Linked DNA regions of Homo sapiens: all the other regions are linked to region 1. The links are contacts of gene promoters, found by promoter capture Hi-C in blood cells and fetal thymus (Javierre and others, 2016). All regions are on one chromosome and are shown on one strand. The core of a region is centred on a gene start or on the middle of the fragment in contact, and the rest is flanking DNA. Distances in the headings are between cores, read along the strand shown. Region 1 holds the start of CCDC66 (coiled-coil domain containing 66). Region 2 overlaps IL17RD (interleukin 17 receptor D). Region 3 has its middle 4.4 kb from the start of APPL1.

Region 1 (3,455 bases), core at 218-2,717:
TTCAATACTACAAGCATTGTTATCATTAACCTGAAATCTCATTTTGTTATTGGTAAACTATAAATTAAGTTATCATACCACCATTTTTTAATAATGCTGTTACCAAAACTCCTCACATAAGTTAAAGGAACAAGATATATTTAACCGCCATTCATTAGTTTCATAATGAACTCATGACTAAAACATTCTATGGAGTGCTGGAGCATCGATATGACTACTAACAATGCCATCAAGGTTAGTAACTGCTTGAGCAAAGAGTACCACTTTCAATATTTCAAATAATACATAGTGATATTTAGTATGGTGCTTTATACGTGCATATCAGAAGCAAAGGCATAAAGTAACAGTAGCCACTGCCAACAAAACTTGAACGTCTGTTAAGGTCCTAAAACTCCACTGAGAACAAAAATGGCAGCCCATACATACAGTCCATAATTCAGAGAGAGAAAATTAAATCCAGCAAGCCAGTCAAGGGAGAGAGAGGCTGGGAAAGGTCTGATTAGGAATGCGAAATTTGCGGTGTTGCTCAGGTAGGGGAAATCAAATTACCTCACCTTAACTATTAAAGGTAAAACACTGGAAAGAATAGGTTTTACGGCTTTCCTTATTGTAGGGTTATGAACAGTTCGTGTTTATGTTGGTGAAACGTCACCAAGAAAGAAAAGAGCTTCAATGGTAAAGTACCTTCAATGACGCACTGCACTGTAATCTCCTTAAGGGACACACTATCTTATTTATTTCCATATCCCCAGATTCTAAAACATAATAACATTTGCTGAACGATGTGTAGTTAGGTCTGAGTTTGGTGGCTTCTCATCTTCTCAAAATATCAAACTTGCGAGTGATGAAGACCATGCACCAGCCCTTTTTATTTATTCACCCCTACTTAAGGAGCGCCTACTAGGTGTTAGGCACTGGTACTACATCGATTTCTTGAGAAGCCTGGTTCCCCGCCTCGTGGGCCTAAAACGAATTTGGGCGTTTCAACATTCTGCAAGACTCCAAAAACAAGGTGGCGAAGAACCCGGGGCATGGGCCAGGAGTCCTCCCCAGGAGCCGCCACGCTTCCTCTAACTGTCTCGTCATTTCTCTCCTTTCCTCCTCACCTCTCTTCCCTCCTCATCCTGAGGTAAATAAGGGACCGAAAGGGGATCACTGGCAGTTTTAATGCTAGTCATTAAGTGAAAACGTAAGGTCTGTGGAGTCGCTAAGGGCCGACCCATCTGCCTCGATCTTCTACCCGAGAACTGGGCTCTGCCCCTCTCGGCGGCGCAGGTTGGGAACGTTCTCCAGTAAAGACTCCAAGGGACAACCCAGACACACATGCCTCCCTCTCCGCTGACGACCACCTTGCTTACCCCAGCTTACCCCAGCTTACCCCTGCTTACCCCAAGTTCATGGCCTGACCTCGCACTCTCTCCACAGAACGCTCAAGCCCCTTGTGTACGTCGGTTGCCGCCGCCGCTCAGCAAGCGCTACGCCAATTGGATATAGGGGTGCCGGCGAGCTGAGCAAGTGGACCAATCAGGGTGGGGCATGCTGGCGGGTGCGCTGAGCTGGGCCGGGGCTCCCGCGGGGACGGTTGCGTATGCCGTTTGTTCCCCTTTTGTGCCCCGTTTGTGCCGTTTGTTCCCCTACGCACAGCGGAATTTGGCCTGACCCGGCTTATGAGTCTAAAGCTTCGGTGGCGGAGACCTGCGCTTCTCGCAATTGTAGCCTTCCAAAGCGCGTACACAGACACACACACACACACACACACACACACACACACACACACACACACACACACACACACACACCTTTTTGGGGTCACCATTTGCAAGTAAGTTACAGACATTGTAACACTTAACCCTTTAACATTGCAGACATTGTAACACTTAACCCTTTAACATTGCAGCATGTATCTCCTAAGAATAGATGTTCTGCTACATAACCGCAGTACAATTATTATACCTAAGATCATTAATTTCATAATAATTCTCTTCCCGATTTAATTTCCCCCACTTGTCCTAAGAATATCTTATAGGCATTTTATTTAGAAAGCAAGAGCCAATCGCGCCACTGCATTCCAGCAGCTTGGGCGACAGAGTGAGACTCCGTCTCAAAAAAAAAAAAAAAAAATGCAAGAGCCGATCAAGGATCACACATTACATTTGGTTGTTAAGTATCTTTGCACACACTCTTTCCAGACAAAAACAATGAAAGGTATTAATTATTAAATGCCTGACAAACCTTTACTTTTTTATTTTTTATTGTTGTAATATGTGTGTTAAAATTTGCTATTTTTAGCCATTTTCAAGTGACAATTCCATGATACAATGTTGTGGAATACGCCAGTATATTTTTCCAAAAGCTTTTTAGTACCCCCAAATAAAAATTCTGTACCCATTAAGCAACAACTTCCCATTTTCCTCTCCCCTCAATCCTAAGAAACCTCTAATCTTATTTCTGTCTCTAGGAATTTGCCTATTATAGATACTTCATGTCATAAAAGTGGAATCATACAATATTTGTCCTTTTGTGTCTTCTCTCAAGTAACATAATGTATTCAAGGTGCATCCATGTTGTAGGATGTATCAGAGCTTCATATCTGTTTATGATTGAATAGTATTCCATTCTATGTATATATATACCACAATTCGTTTACTCATTCATCCATTAATAGACATTTGGGTTGTTTCCATCTTTTAGTTATTGTGAATAATGCTGTAGTGAACACTGATGTACAAGTATCTGTTTGAATCCCTATTTTCAATTTTCTTGGTATACACCTAAGAGTGGAATTACTGGGTCACATGGTAATTCTATGGTTAACTTTTCGAGAAACTGCCAAACTGTTTTCATAACAGTTGCAGCATCTTACATTTCTGCCAGCAATGTATATGAGGTTCTAATTTCTTCACCCCAACACTTGCTTTTTCTTTTTCTTTTCTTTCTTTTTTTTTTTTTTTTAGAGACAGGGTTTTGCTCTGTCACCCAGGCCGCCTACATTGGTACGAACATAACACTGTAACCTCGAACTCCTGGTCTTAAATGATCCTCCTGTCTCAGCCTCCCAAGTAGCTAGGGCTACAGGCATGCACCACTACGCCTGGTTAATTTTTAAAAAAATTTTTGTAGAGACAGAGTCTGTTTACGTTGCCCAGGCTGGTCTCAAACTCCTGGCCTCAAGTAGTCCTCCCACCTCAGACTCCCAAAGTGCTGGGATTATAGGCGTGAGCCTGTAGCCAGAATGATTTCTAAAATGTGAATCTGCTTAATTCACTCTGCTTCTTAAAATCTCTCAATATAGGAGAACGTCCTTAACTTGATAAGCAATATCTACAAAAAATCTCCTAGAGACCGGGTGTGGTGGCTTATGCCTGTAATTGCAGCACTTTGGAAGGCCAAGGCAGGAGGATTGCTTGAGTGTAGGAGTTCGAGACCAGCCTGGGCAACATGGTGAGACTCTATCT
Region 2 (3,093 bases), core at 22-2,521, 540 kb before region 1:
TGGGCAAGGTGCCAAAAGCACTGCGCTTCTGTCCCCTCACTTGTAGGGCAGGAGTGGTAATGACTCCATGTGATACAAAAATGGATGGATGGCAAGTTTTTGCAGAGGGACTAGGGTGTGACCATCACCCACGGAACTTTAGCTGTTCCTTGGTATGGTGTAACCTGGAGCCTGCACATAGCTGTGCTAATAAGGGTTAAGGGGCAGATGAGATGGCCTCCTTCTGACATTTCCCTTCCTGTTACTCACTTCCCGAGCCTCTTCCCGAGCCTTCTGTATGGGTGAGGTGCCTTGTTCTCTTTCCAGGTGGCTCTGGACCTGTGGGAAGACTTCAGCCTCTGTAGAGAAGGGCAGAGAGAATGGGTCATCCAGAAGATCCACGAGTCCCAGTTCATCATTGTGGTTTGTTCCAAAGGTATGAAGTACTTTGTGGACAAGAAGAACTACAAACACAAAGGAGGTGGCCGAGGCTCGGGGAAAGGAGAGCTCTTCCTGGTGGCGGTGTCAGCCATTGCCGAAAAGCTCCGCCAGGCCAAGCAGAGTTCGTCCGCGGCGCTCAGCAAGTTTATCGCCGTCTACTTTGATTATTCCTGCGAGGGAGACGTCCCCGGTATCCTAGACCTGAGTACCAAGTACAGACTCATGGACAATCTTCCTCAGCTCTGTTCCCACTTGCACTCCCGAGACCACGGCCTCCAGGAGCCGGGGCAGCACACGCGACAGGGCAGCAGAAGGAACTACTTCCGGAGCAAGTCAGGCCGGTCCCTATACGTCGCCATTTGCAACATGCACCAGTTTATTGACGAGGAGCCCGACTGGTTCGAAAAGCAGTTCGTTCCCTTCCATCCTCCTCCACTGCGCTACCGGGAGCCAGTCTTGGAGAAATTTGATTCGGGCTTGGTTTTAAATGATGTCATGTGCAAACCAGGGCCTGAGAGTGACTTCTGCCTAAAGGTAGAGGCGGCTGTTCTTGGGGCAACCGGACCAGCCGACTCCCAGCACGAGAGTCAGCATGGGGGCCTGGACCAAGACGGGGAGGCCCGGCCTGCCCTTGACGGTAGCGCCGCCCTGCAACCCCTGCTGCACACGGTGAAAGCCGGCAGCCCCTCGGACATGCCGCGGGACTCAGGCATCTATGACTCGTCTGTGCCCTCATCCGAGCTGTCTCTGCCACTGATGGAAGGACTCTCGACGGACCAGACAGAAACGTCTTCCCTGACGGAGAGCGTGTCCTCCTCTTCAGGCCTGGGTAAGGTGCCTTTGGGGCCGGGTCCTAACAGGCCGCAGCCTTTGACCATGCTTCTGAAATCAGTCAAAGCGTTTTTCCACTTTTGGTGCCAACTTATTGGGCAATGAAACCTGATGAGAACACAGCTCGTTTGGTAGTCTTGATTTATACCAGGTGATGGGAGTACTCACATGTTTGAGTTGCAGAAATACTAATGCTAAATTATAGTGAGCTGCCCAGACCCTGCAAGGGGTGTTGTGCCACATACAGACTATGCACTGTATCACTTTTCTAAACTCCAAAAACATCAGACACGAAAACACATTGGGCCCCAAGGGTCTTGGGTAACAGTTTGTGGATGCGTCTTTTTTAGACCTGTAATGTTCACACCCCCCGCCCCCATTGTCTTTAAAGCTACATTCATTGAGTCTGGGATTCATGGGTACAGTATTCTTTCTATCCTTCAGCATAGGGTCCCAGGTATGAGGGCTCTCTAGGAAGGCCTACTTCTGCAGGGAGCATCAGGTAGATGCCATCTCAGGCTGTCCCTTACCATGTCTGTAACTAGTTGGAGTCATGCATACAAACCCTTGACTTTTTTTTTTTTTTTTTGAGATGGAGTCTCACCCTGTCGCCCAGGCTGCAATGGCATGATCTCAGCTCACTGCAACCTCTGCCTCCTGGGTTCAAGCGATTCTTCTGCCCAGCCTCCCGAATAGCTGGGATTACAAGCATGCGCCACCATGCCCAGCTAAATTTTTGTATCTTTAGTAGAGATTGGGTTTCACCATGTTGGCCAGGCTGGTCTCAAACTCCTGACCTCAAGTGATCCCTCAACCTCGGCCTCCCAAAGTGCTGGGATTACAGGCGTGAGCCACTGCGCCCGGCCTAAACGCTTGACTTTTAAGAAATATCTCTTCCTTCCTCAACTAAGGGAACTAGAACCTGTTAGGAGGATGAGAGTGCCCCATCTTGAGTTGGTTGGGATTCTTGCCTCGTTTATACAGAGCCCATAGTCCAAACCCAGATCCAGTCACATTCTGCCATGAGCACCTGCCCAGCCCAGTGAAATGCAATGACAGTGTGACTCTGTACTCTCTTCTCTCCTTAGGTGAGGAGGAACCTCCTGCCCTTCCTTCCAAGCTCCTCTCTTCTGGGTCATGCAAAGCAGATCTTGGTTGCCGCAGCTACACTGATGAACTCCACGCGGTCGCCCCTTTGTAACAAAACGAAAGAGTCTAAGCATTGCCACTTTAGCTGCTGCCTCCCTCTGATTCCCCAGCTCATCTCCCTGGTTGCATGGCCCACTTGGAGCTGAGGTCTCATACAAGGATATTTGGAGTGAAATGCTGGCCAGTACTTGTTCTCCCTTGCCCCAACCCTTTACCGGATATCTTGACAAACTCTCCAATTTTCTAAAATGATATGGAGCTCTGAAAGGCATGTCCATAAGGTCTGACAACAGCTTGCCAAATTTGGTTAGTCCTTGGATCAGAGCCTGTTGTGGGAGGTAGGGAGGAAATATGTAAAGAAAAACAGGAAGATACCTGCACTAATCATTCAGACTTCATTGAGCTCTGCAAACTTTGCCTGTTTGCTATTGGCTACCTTGATTTGAAATGCTTTGTGAAAAAAGGCACTTTTAACATCATAGCCACAGAAATCAAGTGCCAGTCTATCTGGAATCCATGTTGTATTGCAGATAATGTTCTCATTTATTTTTGATGTAGAATTTACATTGCCATGGGTGTTAAATAAGCTTTGAGTCAAAAGTCAAGAAAGTGACTGAATATACAGTCACCTTTTATGAAATGAGTCTCTGTGTTACTGGGTGGCATGACTGATTGAGGTGAAGCTCACGGGGC
Region 3 (3,338 bases), core at 626-3,125, 670 kb before region 1:
GTTAATTTTATGGAAAGCAAGTCAGGATTAAACAACATCCACTAAAGATTTCTTTGAGATGTTTCACATATATACCTTGAGACATTTCACACGTATAATTTACAACAAAAGGACGTACAGTCTTGTAAATAGAGTTGTTAATTATTAGTCTCCTAAAATTATATTTGGTCTTATAATTAGGTTTTTACATGATACTCCTTGAAGTTCTGGTCTGTGATCTGTAATAGGAAAGAATCCAATAACCCAAGTGATGCTGGTGCTTTACTTTTAAAAATTATCCCTTTAGGTCAGTGGTTTCCAAACTTAATGCACACATAAAAGTTATCTGGGAAGGTTGTTAGCATACAGATTCCTGAGCCCTGCTGGAAGATTTTGGTGTAGTAGGTCAGAGTCAGGGCTGGGAATCTCTCCAGTTAAGTCTGAAGTGGGTAATCCACAAACCACATGAGGAAAAACTCTATCCAAGATGGAGAATGATCATTTCCCTTTCCTAAATCACTTTGTATTTAAAAAAAATTTTTAAAGAGTCAGGTGGGCACAGTAGCTCATGCTTGTAATCCTAGCACTTTGGGAGGTCAAGGTGGAAGGATTGCTTAAGCTCTGGAGTTTGAGACTAGCCTGGGCAACACAGAGACACCATCTCTACAAAAAAAAATTAAATTAAATTAAAATTTTAAAAAATTGGCCTGGTGCAGTGGCTCATGCCTGTAATCCCAGCACTTCGGGAGGCCGAGGCGGGTGGATCACCTGAGGTCAAGAGTTCAAGACCAGGCTGGGCAACATAGTGAAACCCCGTCTCTGCAAAAATTAGCTGGATGTGGTGGCAGGTTCCTATTATCCCAGCTACTCGGGAGGCTGAGGCAGGAGAATCGCTTGAACTTGGGAGGCGGAGGTTGCAGTGAGCCGAAATCACACCACTGCACTCCAACCTGGGTGACAAAGCGAGACTCAGTCTAAATTAAAACAAAAATTAACAAAAAATAAAGAGTCAAGCAAACATTTAGAAAAGGAATCCTAGATTCCAGCTAAGGATGGTGAGGACATGATTTCCAGGCTAACGAGCTGGAAACCACCTACTCACAAATATTCTCTAAAAGACTCCATCAATCTAAAATTCTGGGAAATTCATACTCCTTTTAAAGAGTGTAATGTATAATGCAAAAAATTCTGGTTGTTACCTAGTAAATCACTCCTTAATAGGACTAACTTTAACAGATAATTCATTATTTTCTTAATACCAGCTGAGATAAAGCAGATTCAGGAAAGAGCAGATTTCAAGAAAATTGATAATTTGGGAACTTCAGTCATTTAATCTATTTTAAAACATTAGAGCCAGTAGCAGAGTAGGGGGAAGCTTTGGACAATTGGAGGGTAAAACAAAAAGTTCTGAGGAATGGGTTGCAAAAAGAGGTGGGAGGGCACTAAGGACCAACTGGTTGGTTCTTCATTGTGCCACTGCAAACTAGCTTCTGCCTTTGACCTTGACCTTGATGTCACTTTTACTCATTGCCACAGCATCCTTAGAATGTGGGACAATTCTGCAGCTTCAACTTTCTTGATGGTAAAAAGAAAAAAAAAAACTTCTAGGAAAATTGTATATGCTTTTGTTTATCTATGGTTGCCTTGATTCCTTTTTAGAAGAACACATTAATTAATTTGTCTGAGCAGGCCAAGAACTTTAACACAAAATAGCATCATAGCCCTTCTGTGGAGAGGTAGATGAGAACATGGTTATGAGCTAATAAGCTTGGGCTGTGATTTAAATTCTGGCTCCACTGTTTAGTAGCTCTGTGACTTAAGTAAGGTTATTTAACTTCTCTGTTTCTCCATTCTGCCATCTGAAAAATGGAGCTTAATACTAGAGAACTTACATTAATAGTATTGTTAAGATGATTAATGAGCTTTTAGAGTAGCTCCTAGCGCAATAAGCATTCAGTAAAAATTATCTTTTTCATTATCAACTATTAAATATTAAAATATTTTAATACATTTAAGGAAGCTTTTTTGTCTCTATCATATTTTTTTAAAAACTAATATTTTTTAAATCAGAAGATTGGGCTCATTACCTTAGAGAATCCTGATGCTATTTTAAATAACATTAGTTACTCTTGCTAATGTTTTATCACTTTGATTTGGGGGCTTTTGAGGCCAAAACCAAAATTTCAAAATCAATAAATATGTACTTTGAAATTCTGGAGGAAAAGTGTACCAAAACAATTACCAAAATAGCCAAGATTATTGCCATTTTGAGGTTTTTAGGAGTTTTTGTTTTGTTTTTTGTTTTGTTTTTTGTTTGGCGGGTGGTGAGTGGGTAGAGGTGCCCCAAAGTTAAAAGATTTTCATGACACTTACCCCACATGGGAATTCTGGAAGGAACAGTCAAATCATTGGGGAAAAAATTGCTCATAGGCTGGGGGCGGTGGCTCACAGCTGTAATCCCAAAATTTTGGGAGGCTGAGGTGGGAGGATCGCTTGAGCCCAGGAATTTGAGACTAACCTGTGCAACATAGTGAGACCGTGTCTCTACAAAAAATTTAAAAATTAGCCAGGTGTGGTGGCACATGCCTGTAGTCCCAGTTACTCGGGAGGCTGAGGTGGGAGGATTGCTTAAGCCCAGGAGGTCAAGGCTGCAGTGAGCCGTGATCTTGCCGCTGTACTCCAGCCTGGTGATAGCGAGACCCTGTCTCAAAAAAATGCTTTTAGGGAAATTAATATGTCCTGTGCCTGTTTAATCATTGAAAACATTTTAATATTTTCAGAGCCATAGAGGGCAGTGAAAAACAGAGTAGCAGAATTGATTATACCAGTACTATTTATCCAATGGCTAATACAAATAAGACTCTCAGGGATAATTCACACGTGCTTCCAAGAACACTAGATGGCACCAATTATTTAGGATTCAGACTACCTCAGGGAACAGCTGTCTTCATTCAACAAATATTTATTAAATAATGAACAAAACAAAAATATCTGTCATTGTGGAGCTACAGGTTAGTAGATATGGTGGGGAGAAAGACAATAAAAAATAAACATAGTAAGTAGTATTAGAAGTATAGCATATTGGCCGGGAGCAGTGGCTCATGCCTATAATCCCAGCACTTTGGGAGGCCAAGGCGGGTGGATCACGAGATCAGGAGTTCAAGACCAGCCTTGACAATATGGCGAAACCCCATCTCTACTAAAAATACAAAAATTAGCTGGGCATGGTGGCACGTGACTGTAGTCCCAGCTGCTCGGGAGGCTGAGGCAGGAGAATCGCTTGAACCCGGGAGGCAGAGTTTGCAGTGAGCCGAGATTGTGCCACTGCACTCCAGCCTGGGTGACAGAGCACGACTCCA

Evidence for each region. The method cuts DNA at HindIII sites, captures the fragments that hold promoters and counts their contacts. A CHiCAGO score of 5 or more calls a contact.
Region 2: a fragment that was not itself captured here is called in contact with the fragment with the promoter of CCDC66 in region 1 in 1 of 17 cell types (monocytes); the score reaches 5.8 in monocytes.
Region 3: a contact is called between a fragment that was not itself captured here and the fragment with the promoter of CCDC66 in region 1, in 2 of 17 cell types (total CD8 T cells and activated CD4 T cells). The highest score is 7.4, in total CD8 T cells.

What each region holds. Positions count from the first base shown.
Region 1 is chr3:56,555,187-56,558,641 of GRCh38, reverse strand. It overlaps CCDC66 (coiled-coil domain containing 66), which reads right to left and starts at 1,467. Exons shown (of 18, transcript NM_001141947.3): 1 at 1,389-1,467. The coding sequence starts at 1,399. RefSeq lists enhancers at 1,052-1,211, 680-1,351, 1,352-2,024. The HindIII fragment of the contact is 1,896 bases long and covers 1-1,681 here.
Region 2 is chr3:57,095,752-57,098,844 of GRCh38, reverse strand. IL17RD (interleukin 17 receptor D) reads left to right here. Exons shown (of 13, transcript NM_017563.5): 12 at 307-1,249; 13 at 2,340-3,093. The coding sequence ends at 2,452. Among named protein-coding and RNA genes, the nearest start is that of SPATA12, 37 kb to the right of the region's middle. RefSeq lists an enhancer at 430-1,629. The HindIII fragment of the contact is 3,437 bases long and covers 1-2,989 here.
Region 3 is chr3:57,221,629-57,224,966 of GRCh38, reverse strand. It overlaps a transcript of HESX1 not described here. Among named protein-coding and RNA genes, the nearest start is that of APPL1, 4.4 kb to the left of the region's middle. The HindIII fragment of the contact is 253 bases long and covers 1,749-2,001 here.